3 separate regions of the Homo sapiens genome follow, and all the other regions are linked to region 2. Evidence: promoter capture Hi-C in 16 types of primary human blood cells and fetal thymus (Javierre and others, 2016). All regions are on one chromosome and are shown on one strand. Each heading gives the region's core, a stretch centred on a gene start or on the middle of the fragment in contact. The rest is flanking DNA. Distances are from core to core; before and after follow the strand shown. Region 1 overlaps CHEK1 (checkpoint kinase 1). Region 2 holds the start of SIAE (sialic acid acetylesterase). Region 3 has its middle 33 kb from the start of OR10G7.

Region 1 (3,272 bases), core at 202-2,701, 950 kb before region 2:
CAAAATTTCCTTGATTTTTCAGATCTTGTCTTGAAATTCCAGTAATGCAAAAAGACTTGATTTTGCCTTGTATGGCTATATTAAAATAATTAGGTAATTAAAATAATTTAGGTAATTATTTTATTTTATTTTAGGTAGTGATAAAATGCTAAACTTACCCCTTTCATCCAACAGAAGATTTTCTGGTTTAATATCCCTGTGAGTTATTCCAATACCATGCAGATAAACCTAAGAGGGATGCAGAGAGAAACACACTAGAATTTGGTAATGTAATGTATTCACTCTAATTTTAAGTAAAAGGGAAATAGACAACTATACCTACCACCCCTGCCATGAGTTGATGGAAGAATCTCTGAGCATCTGGTTCAGGCATGCCTATGTCTGGCTCTAAAACAAATATGAAAGTAAGTTTATTGACTAAATATAATCAGGTAGCAACCACATAGCTTCTTAATTTGAAGCTTAGACATTTACAAATGTGCTTAGGCAAACAGAAGCAAATGCCAACAAAAGATTCAGGAGTCCACTAACACATATGGGGCTTAACTCACATTTACCTGTGTTAGGTGGCAAAAGGCGTCATCACAGAAAAATTATAAAGAGAAAACCAATATCCAAATCAAGAATGCAAGCCATGACTTCAAAGCCTCTGCTTCCTCTTATACTAACCCTGATTTATTTAGTAACCTTGAAATTCCCCCCATTTCTTCTAAATGCTATGCTAATTATTTTTCTCATTCCTGAAATATAATGCCAAAGGGGAAGTCTGGGCAAATCTAAGCCAATTTCACTAAATATTTTACAGATTATACTTCTTTTATAATTTAACTTTTTTTAGAGATACGGTCTTGTTCTTTCACCCAGGCTGGAGTGCCCTGGCGTGAGATCATAACTTACTGTAACCTGGAACTCTTGAGCTCAAGCAATCCTCCTGCCTCCTAAGTAGCTAGGATTGCAGGCATGTACCACCACACCTGGCTCAGATTTAAACTTCATATAGTCTCACAGTACAAAACCACAAATGCCTGTGAGGTCCTTCGTGAAACAGTTTTATTATGAAAGTTCTTTTATCAGTTATCTTTTTATATTTTGATCTCTCTCATTAACTCCATTTCTTTTACCCTCAACTCTCTCCTGAGTCACACTGGAGATCCTAATACCTCTTTATCAGTTTTTAACTGATAAACTTATTTAATACAATAGCTTTAAATTATAAATTTAAATTATAAATTTAGATCCAGATTTTATGTACTTCTCAGTGTTCTGAAATATCAATCCTTTGATTCTACATCGAATATTTAAGTATTAATAGCAAACATAGAATTTACTTAATATACAAAAAGCAATCCTAGAAAATTCTCAATTATTTCATGTAAACCAAGAGGAAACAGCATGCTATTTTAGATCTGTAAATGTATAAAATGTATACAATGATTTCATGTAACTAGAATGTCTACAAAGAAAAAATTGTGTAGGCAATACATTGCATTTAGGATACACTGCATTTATGATGTACCATAAAACTTGTTTGTCACTCTTAAATTCTGTAAGACACCAATCTTAAATCAAAATCACTTATATAACTTGGGAAAGAAGTTTTCTTTCATTGACTCTATATATGCTTTTATGTTATTAACACCAGGTGGAAAAATTTTTTAAAGATAATGTATTCCAATTTCACAGTTGCATGAGCAATTTTGAAAGGACAACGACCAAATAGCATGCCCAAGATTTAAAAAACAAATTTAAAAACTTGTTTAAAATAATTATCTTAAATTTCTTCCATACCTATTCTGTCAAAAAGCTCTCCTCCACTACAGTACTCCAGAAATAAATATTGGATATTGCCTTCTCTCCTGTGACCATAGAATTTTACTACATTTTCATGATTTAGCATTTTATTGATACAGATCTCTTTCTTAATATTTTCTGGACAGTCTACGGCACGCTTCATATCTACAATCTTCACTGCGACTGCTTCTTCAGTTACTCTATTCACAGCAAGTTGAACTCTAAAAAGGAAAAGAGTTTTAACATTACAGAATTCCATTTCTTCTAAAACTTCCAAAGATTAAACATGACTCATCCAAAACGATTTTACCTCTATTACTTTTTCCACAAAGGAGAAACCAAGGAAGTGGTTTCTGCTATGTTCTCAACACACACTACTCTTTTCTAAAATGTGAAATACAATAGCTAACCCTCCAAAGACGTCATTATGCTGTCACACAAGTCATTTAATAAACGCTTCATAAAATAGATTGAGATAATTCTAAGCCACATCACATATATACATGTTCTACTCATATACTTTTAAGAGCATTAATCCCATACTATATGTGCTTGTGTAACTGACTGTCCTAAGCTCCTATGGGGTAGATGCGATTATTGCCACCCTAAAGGTAGTGAAGGAGAGGTACACAATGACATTAAGAAGCTTGCCTAAGATCACAAAACAATGACCAGTATGTGATAGAGCAAGGATCTGAAACCAGGCAGGCAATCTCCAGAGTCTGCTCATTTGCTCATTAACCGCAATGCTTAAACCCTGAGAAGCAATTTGTGGGCATGGAAACAATAACTTCGTGTCCCTTCCAGCTCTCTACAAAGAAAACTTTTTTTTTTAAAGGGAAGGAAAAAATTTTTAATCCTAGCAAAAGGCTGTGTAACTTCAGTTGCCAAAACCCTTGGATCTCAAACATCTACTTTCTAAATCACCAGAGTGTGAGACTCCAAAACAATGAATATGCACTCAGAAAACGAAGGCAAGCTTAAAAGAACTCACTCTCCATAGGCACCTTCTCCCAGGGTTTGCACCAAGTCCCAGTCTTCCACAAAGGGCACTGCCATGACTCCACCGAGCACCTCGGCTGTAAAAGGCAGGAATCCAGAAAAGATGTAGAGTGTAAGATCACCAGTGAAGCCACTGAGCCCCGCCTCTCCCCAGGATTGCCCACGAAAATTAACAGCTCTTGCCTTCCCCTTCTATCTCATCCACATTTATCCAAGTCTTTCAACCACGAACAACTATTCTAAACCTGACCATTTTGTCGTGTAAATCACAATCGCCACTCCCAAGCACACCGAAGGTTGAAATTCTGCCCTCCTCAGGCCCCAGAGGAAATTAATTGTTGTTATGAAGAGGTGGGAGACAAATGCTTTCCGGCGAACGACTGGGGAAGGAGGAGGGAGAGGTGGGGGTCTGGGGAAGAGAGGAAGAGGATATAGGGAGCGGTATGGGGCAGAAAACGCCTGCGGCAGCGCCTCCTCCC
Region 2 (3,530 bases), core at 740-3,239:
TCTTTTTTTCCCCCACTGATTTCTCCCGAGAAATGTATGCTCTTTTGCAGTTACCTTCCACGCTGTATGTCCGTGAGAAATACAATGAAGACGGTCTGAATAATGAACTGGTAATCTTCGATAATATGAAACGAATTTAAGAGAACATATCAAAGAGGTACATACTGTTTCAAAGAGCAAGAACTGTTATCTGAAACTCCCTGCCTCATAAAAGGCTTTCTGCAGAATGGAGATGGTCTTAAGCAAGTTTTACCATAAACAAATGCTTAGTTTCTTATTTTAAAAAATGACTAATTTTAGAAAGCTTACTCTCTCTTTTCTCTAGAAGGCTCTCAAAATAGGCTGCTGCAAAAGCTGGTATATTGTCCGGTTGCTCTCTCAGAATCTCGCGTGTCAGCCCTTCAAGAAGATTCCCAAATCCTTGTGGAATTCGGTAGTGGGTGTTGGAGAATGGAATCGACATCTTCTTGGTAAGAACTGCCTATGGAACCTAAAGATTCATTAAAGAGTACTGTCTTTAAATTTGTCTGATTTTACTTATATAATCACAACTATGCCAACAAATTATTTCTGAGACTCATACATCTGGACTTGAATTCTTTTTTCCCTAACACAACCCAAGCCCATCCATTTCTTCCAAAGAGTTTTGAAATCTCCATTGTGAATTAGTATAATACAAACACAGACCCATTCACTAGGCCAAATCATTTAAAATCCTGCAAAAAACCCATAATTTTCAATATGACTTTTTCTCTCTTTACCCTTTATATGCTCAAAAGGTAAGGGTAATTTTTGCTATCACACAGGAATTTAGAGAGAATGATTGCTAAAAAGTTAAATTCATTGTCAATTGCTGAGAAGACCTTCTTTGAGGTCTATTTTTTTTTAAAGAGTAGAAATTAGTCCTGGTTCTAGAAATTAATTTGTTGAATGAAGAAGTTGCACAATCTTTCCCCTTGCTGCCACTTCTGAAGCATGACCCACAATGCTTCGAACACCTTCGTACTGTGGAATGGGGTTGTGCGTGCGTGTGTGTGAGGGAGGGATGGGATGGGATGGGGCTGTGTGTCATGATTTTGAAATCCCAGCCTCTAAAGTTTTAGAATTCTTATATTTTTCGGTTTCTTCTTGATCAGGTTGTCTCTTTCTGTCTTGAAATACAAGGGCTAGATTAAGGGTAGCTGCTAAGCAGCGGGCTGAGCTACTACTGAGTATGAAAAGAATCCTCCGGGACCTGGCCTGTTAATGTGAGAGTGTGCGTCAATGCGGAATAGAGGCGGAGGCCGTGGTAGGGGTCCAGGTTGGGAGAACTGGACGGTTTAATGAGGCTCAGACTATGGAGGGTTCTCGTTTCATCGCTTTTTTTTTCTTTGAGAGGGGGTCTCTGGCCTCGAACTCCTGGGCTCCAGCGATGATCCCGCCTCAGCCTCCCGAGCAATTGGGATTACAGGCGCGCGCCACCACGCCTGACTCCTCTCTTTTGCTTTTTCTGAGGGAGCAGTAGATGGGGGTATCGAACCATTCTAGAGTGGTGAAAAGAGCTGGCGAGATTCTGAACCAATGTGGGCAGAGGAGGGCGGGCGGAGGGGGCAGACGGGTCTAGTCGGGGGCGGGATGTTGAGGACCTGGGATTTCAGACTCGCGCAGAATGGGCTGCCTCGGCTCCCAAACGGCCCAGGGCTCCGAGGCTGTGTCTGGGATGCTGAGAGAATAAGAGAGACGAAGGGAAAAGGCTAGGTCTTGGTATCGGAGAGGAAGTGGGGAAGCGGCCTCACCTCCTTTCTCTCCGAGCTGGTGCCGCCGGTTCCGGTTGTTTTTCTAGTTGCTGGGTAACCGTTTTTTCTTTAAAAAAAAAAAAAAACTACGGCGGCCGAGAAGGGGCGAGTACAGCCCAGTCCTGAGGTCGCGGGAGGCTGCGAGGACTGCAAAAGGGTGGAGTCGGCCTCGCCCCCGCCCAGGCCCCGCCCCTGCCGGGAACCCACTTTCCCAGTCCTAGGCGGCGGTCAGATCCTTGCAAGCATGGTCGCGCCGGGGCTTGTACTCGGGCTGGTGCTGCCATTAATCCTGTGGGCCGACAGAAGTGCAGGTGAGGCGGCCCGGCTCGGCCGGACCCCTGCCCCTCAGCCTGTGCGGGCTCCGAGACCCCGTGTCCTCTGCGGGACACGGATCCGCGCCCCTTTCTCAAGGTCGACGAAGGAACCTAGCTAGGCTAGGGGCTCGCGTCTCCGACCGAGGCCCGGTCTGCAGGAGTCTGCTGGGTTGAACCCCGGCCTCTCCACTTTCTCCACCCCCCACTTACCATCCCTGACATGCAGCCTGTGAGCAGGGAGAAAGTGCGGCTTGTCTGAGTGGGGAGGCCCAAATGTGCCCAGAAAGAGGCCTTCGGGGTCCTGGAGTAACTGCAGGGGAGCTCGGAGGGAAGGAGGCGAAGCTAGTTAGGTAATATTTGGAAACAGGTGACTGAATCTTCCAAAACATTTCAGCGCTACCCCCTCAGTGGTGCCCTTGGGGAGGGTTTGCTTCAGGCGGGGTTCCTTAGGGGAATTAAATTTTACTCGTTTAAGTGGTTATCAGGGCTAAGAAATACAACCCCCTCACTAGCTCTGACTATTTAAGGCTCAGTTTTGATTTCTGGTACCGCTTACAGATATTGGTGGTGGGAAAATGTGAGTGGCATAGGGGAGGCTGGTGGCTCCCTTTGGCTGTTGCGCAGGTCAGATCTTGCCATTCGAATACCCTAGGCTGGACACTGGGTCACAGTATGGAGAAAGCAGAAGGTGCAATCTGTCTGATAATGCAAACTAAAGTGATAATGTTGGATTTCTTCCTTTCTGTTTCAAAACACTCAAAGAGTGGACCCCAGAGATCCCTGTTAAGAAATGATAGTTGGGGTAGGAGAACAGCGTGCAGAAAAATGACTCCTGCTCTACCTGAGAGCCGGAAAAGTACCTAGATTCAGACAAACTGCAGCCCATAAATGATTGTTCAGAGTCTAACAAAAGTGCAAAATGCTAGCACTCTGTATGCCATTTCCTGACTCTTATCTCCACTCAGTGACCTTTGAGATCCATCTTATGAGGTGGGGAAAAGATATTTTATTAGGTTTTCAGTTAAAGGCTGTTTATTTTAGTGTCAGTATTTTATCTCCTCCTTTGGGTCTTATTGTTACATCACCTTCATTAACATTGATCACATTTTTCATTCATTAGTACTCTACTTGGTTGCGTATCCTGACGTTTTTCCTTTAAGTCATTCTCCCTGTGCCCATGTTTACCATGTAATGCTTGAGATGTACAAAATTATATGTAACAATGACACAATAAAATGAACACCCATGAGAGCAGTACCCAACTTAAGAACTAGAACATTGCCAGTCTATTGAGCCTGCCATTGTGCTCCTCGCCAATGCATCCGGAGCTCCTCACCAGAGGCAACCACTGCCCTCTCTTCCCCATAACACTAATTCCTGTTTTTCTACTCCAGCCCCAAATGAAGGAAAAAACTGAAGACCTAAAAAATCCAAATGTTGG
Region 3 (3,375 bases), core at 697-3,196, 600 kb after region 2:
CTGCTGCCTCGGCCCCCTCCAGACTTTGAGCATCCAGGAGCACAAAGGCTGGGTACGGGGGAAGCTGAGTGGTGGGGGGCTGAGGGCAGCTAGGTGCTGGCCTGCAGGTGCCCCTGGGGGCTAGCAGCCTGGGCGGCATGGACAGTGTCAGGAGGCAGACAGACTCCTGGGTGGAAGGGGTCAGGTCCCCCAGGGAGGGTCCGAAGGCTAGGGGCCAGGCTGCTGGTGGAGTGGGGTCTTGTGGTGCCTTTTCCAGACCTGCCCATGGCCACCCATGGACCAACTGGCACACACTTCCTCTCCTCTGAGGTCCATAAAAGCCCTGGGATCAGCTACAGCAGGGTAGATCAGAGGATGGAGAGGTGACAGGATGATCAGCAGCAGAGAGGAGTTACACTCTCTGCTGAGAGCTGCAGAGGCAATGGGATGACCTGCTGCAGAGAGGAGCCACCACTCTAGGGCCTCTTCTCTGCTTAGAGCTGCAGACAATGGGAGGACCCGCAGCAGAGAGGAGCTACCCTCAACACTTGTTGAGATGACCTCTAGCAGAGAGGAACTACCCGCTCCCTAGGAGCTGAACACTTGTCAGGACACTCCGGCTGCAGAAAGAAGCTCCCCACTGCAGGTCCCCTCTGAGCTGTTCTATAGCTCAATAAAGCTCTTCTTCCTCTTACTCACCCTCCACTTGTCTGCATAACTCACTTTTCCTAGTCACAGGACAAGAACTCGTGACCCAACGAATGGCAAAGCTAAAAGAGCTGTAACACAAACAGGGCTGAGACATGCCCCTTGCTTGCTCCCTACATTGCAGGTGAAGAGAAGGAAAGAAGAGCTGTGGCCCTTTGGGGATCCCAGACCTGGGAGCTCCCCCACAGGGCTGTGACTCCCTCTTTGGGGCCCTGCAATCTCCAAGCTTCCAGGCACCACCATGGTCCCCAGTGCCAGCTGTGGAAGCTGCTTGCAGTGCACCTGGTCTGGCCACAGCCTTGCAAAGAACCAGCACCCATGCCGGCACTTGGAGCTGCCCACCCCACTGCAGCAACCAGCCTGTCTGACTGTGTGCAGTGGCCAGACCTCACACTTGCTCACATACCCTTCACCGCTCCCACCTTACTCGCCCTTGGGAGACATGGGATCAAGGCCAGTAGCGTCAGCCAAGCACAGCCTGCAAGGCCAAGTAGGCAGAATGAGCCCAGTGGGCCCCACCAAATCTCAAGCAAAGGCGCCACTGGTCACAGATGTTTCCGGTCAGAAAAGTGACACCCCAAAGATCCCCTAACAGTAGACCTTCCCCACAATTGTTTTGCTTTGTTTCTTATATATAAACAAGCATTGTACCTAAGGTGGACGTAATTCTTCCTTTTGCTTTTGGGAATGTCCTGCTCTGCCTATGGAGTGGCCATTCTTTCATTCCTTTACTTTCCTAATAAACTTGCTTTTGCTTTACTCTGTGTATTTGTCCTGAATTGTTTTTTGCACAAGATTCAAGAACCCTCTCTTGGGGTCTGGATTGTGACCCTTTTCTGATAAAACAATTTAATGTTTTATATTGAAATGTGCTAATGTTGAATTTGTAAAGATACTATCAATAAAGAAAAATACAAACAATAATTGTTTTTAATCTACTGAAATCTATCGAGCAATAACCACTCAACAATTTGGTGATCATCTTTCCACCAAAGACACACGCATATGCTACACACACAAATTTACACAAGTAAATAACATTATAGCTATGATACTATACTCTAATTTTCCTATTCCCTAAAGCTTTTTCTCACATCAGTAACAGATAGCTGCCTCAACTTGAATGACTATAAAAATTCATTTTATGAATAAGTCAAATTATTCTTAACCCATTAATAGAAATATTTTTCTTTAAGAGTTTACATTAATGAACAATCACTTTAAACTATCATCTCAACTAAGACACTTATTTCATATGTATGGTTCATTCATATGTGTATAATCTTGGTTATTTCCCTGCTTTATAAACGCAAAGGAACATAGTTATATTCTTATGTCTTTTCCCAGATTATTTTTACATCACTGTGAAAGGAAAACCTTTTTATATTACTTGTTAAAAATTTTTCTGATGGTCATAAGTTTGGGATTAAGCTTTCAATTTTGGGGCTTTCCTGCCCTCCATCAGGCTCATTAGATCAGATGTATTTCACTGCCATCATTTTCTTTTTTTCTTTTCTTTTTCTTTGGAGATGGAGACTCACTCTGTCACCAGGCTGGAGTCCAGTGGTGCGATCTCGGCTCACTGCAACCTCTGGTTCCCGGTTCAAGCTCCCGGTTCTCCTGTTCAGTCTCCTGAGTAGCTGCGGCTAGTGTTCTAATCTTTGCAAAGGTAGTTCCAAGAAGAGGAAAATAGTTCTGTCTAAAAGAATTCTTTGGAGTATTTATAGTTTCAGAAAAATAGAAATTTATGTGTAAAAACTGAAACTAAGGTAACATATTATTAACTAAAACAACCAGATAGCAAAACATATTTTAGAGATGAAGCATTACATTTTAGAGGACGTAGAACAATTTTTCCAATCAAGGTGAGTGTCCTAAAAGTTTGCATTATTAAGGAAAGTTCAAGGGGACGATTTTATAAAAATTATAAAGAAAAGAAGTGCAACACCGTACATTTTCTCAAGGCCCATAGTTTTGTGAATGTTTTCCTACATCATTTTATCAAAAAGGTTCTGACAATTCCAAATGCTATTTACTGCTATGGTGTTACGGGAAGGGGAAATCTTTTCTCTTTCATTTTTCTGAGATTCCTAATTGGTAGCAATTGTTAATAAAAAAGGCAAAAAATCTTAAGACTAAGATCTGGAGATAAGCAAGTTTTCACAGAAAGAAACTTAAAACTTTGAAAATAGTGAAAAGCGCAGGAGGAATTTTAACAAATGCAAAATGAGGAATATAATAGGATGTTTTTACTTGCAACCAGGAATTAAAATGGAGGAGAAAGTAAGTTGTTTCTTACCTCTATCAGTTTCAAGTTTACTTAGCGTTTTTGATTTGGAGAAGAAAGGAAAAGATATACGTCAGAGATCTTTTAGGTAAAGCAAAATGAAACAAAAATATGTATGAGTTATGGGAAAATAGAAGAAAGAAAAAGGAGGCCGCAAGCAGTGGCTCACGCCTGTAATCCCAGCATTTTGGGAGGCCGAGGCGGGCAGATCATGAGGTCAGGAGATCAAGATCAGCCTGGCCAACACGGTGAAACCCTGTCCCTAGTAAAAATACAAAAAAATTTAGCCAAGCGTGGTGGCGCACGCCTGTGATCCTAGCTACTCGGGAGGCTGAGGTAGGAGAATTGCTTGAACCTGGGAGGTGGAGGTTGTAGTTAACAGAGATCGTTCCACTGCACTC

What was found. The method cuts DNA at HindIII sites, captures the fragments that hold promoters and counts their contacts. A CHiCAGO score of 5 or more calls a contact.
Region 1: a contact is called between a fragment that was not itself captured here and the fragment with the promoter of SIAE in region 2, in 1 of 17 cell types (total CD8 T cells). The highest score is 5.5, in total CD8 T cells.
Region 3: a fragment that was not itself captured here is called in contact with the fragment with the promoter of SIAE in region 2 in 1 of 17 cell types (total B cells); the score reaches 6.4 in total B cells.

Annotation. Positions count from the first base shown.
Region 1 is chr11:125,626,347-125,629,618 of GRCh38, reverse strand. It overlaps CHEK1 (checkpoint kinase 1), which reads right to left. Exons shown (of 13, transcript NM_001114122.3): 2 at 2,786-2,870; 3 at 1,789-2,012; 4 at 323-387; 5 at 159-228. The coding sequence starts at 2,850. Among named protein-coding and RNA genes, the nearest start is that of CHEK1, 2.8 kb to the right of the region's middle. RefSeq lists enhancers at 2,811-2,860, 2,421-2,964. The HindIII fragment of the contact is 1,976 bases long and covers 464-2,439 here.
Region 2 is chr11:124,672,198-124,675,727 of GRCh38, reverse strand. SIAE (sialic acid acetylesterase) reads left to right here and starts at 1,989. Exons shown (of 10, transcript NM_170601.5): 1 at 1,989-2,086. The coding sequence starts at 2,020. SPA17 (sperm autoantigenic protein 17) reads right to left here and starts at 1,824. Exons shown (of 5, transcript NM_017425.4): 1 at 1,776-1,824; 2 at 310-490. The coding sequence starts at 463. It overlaps LOC124902780 (a long non-coding RNA gene), which reads right to left and starts at 303. Exons shown (of 2, transcript XR_007062933.1): 1 at 166-303; 2 at 1-62. RefSeq lists an enhancer at 1,714-1,893 and silencers at 1,803-1,961, 1,934-2,053. The HindIII fragment of the contact is 8,074 bases long and covers 307-3,530 here.
Region 3 is chr11:124,072,413-124,075,787 of GRCh38, reverse strand. No RefSeq gene overlaps it. Among named protein-coding and RNA genes, the nearest start is that of OR10G7, 33 kb to the right of the region's middle. The HindIII fragment of the contact is 348 bases long and covers 1,773-2,120 here.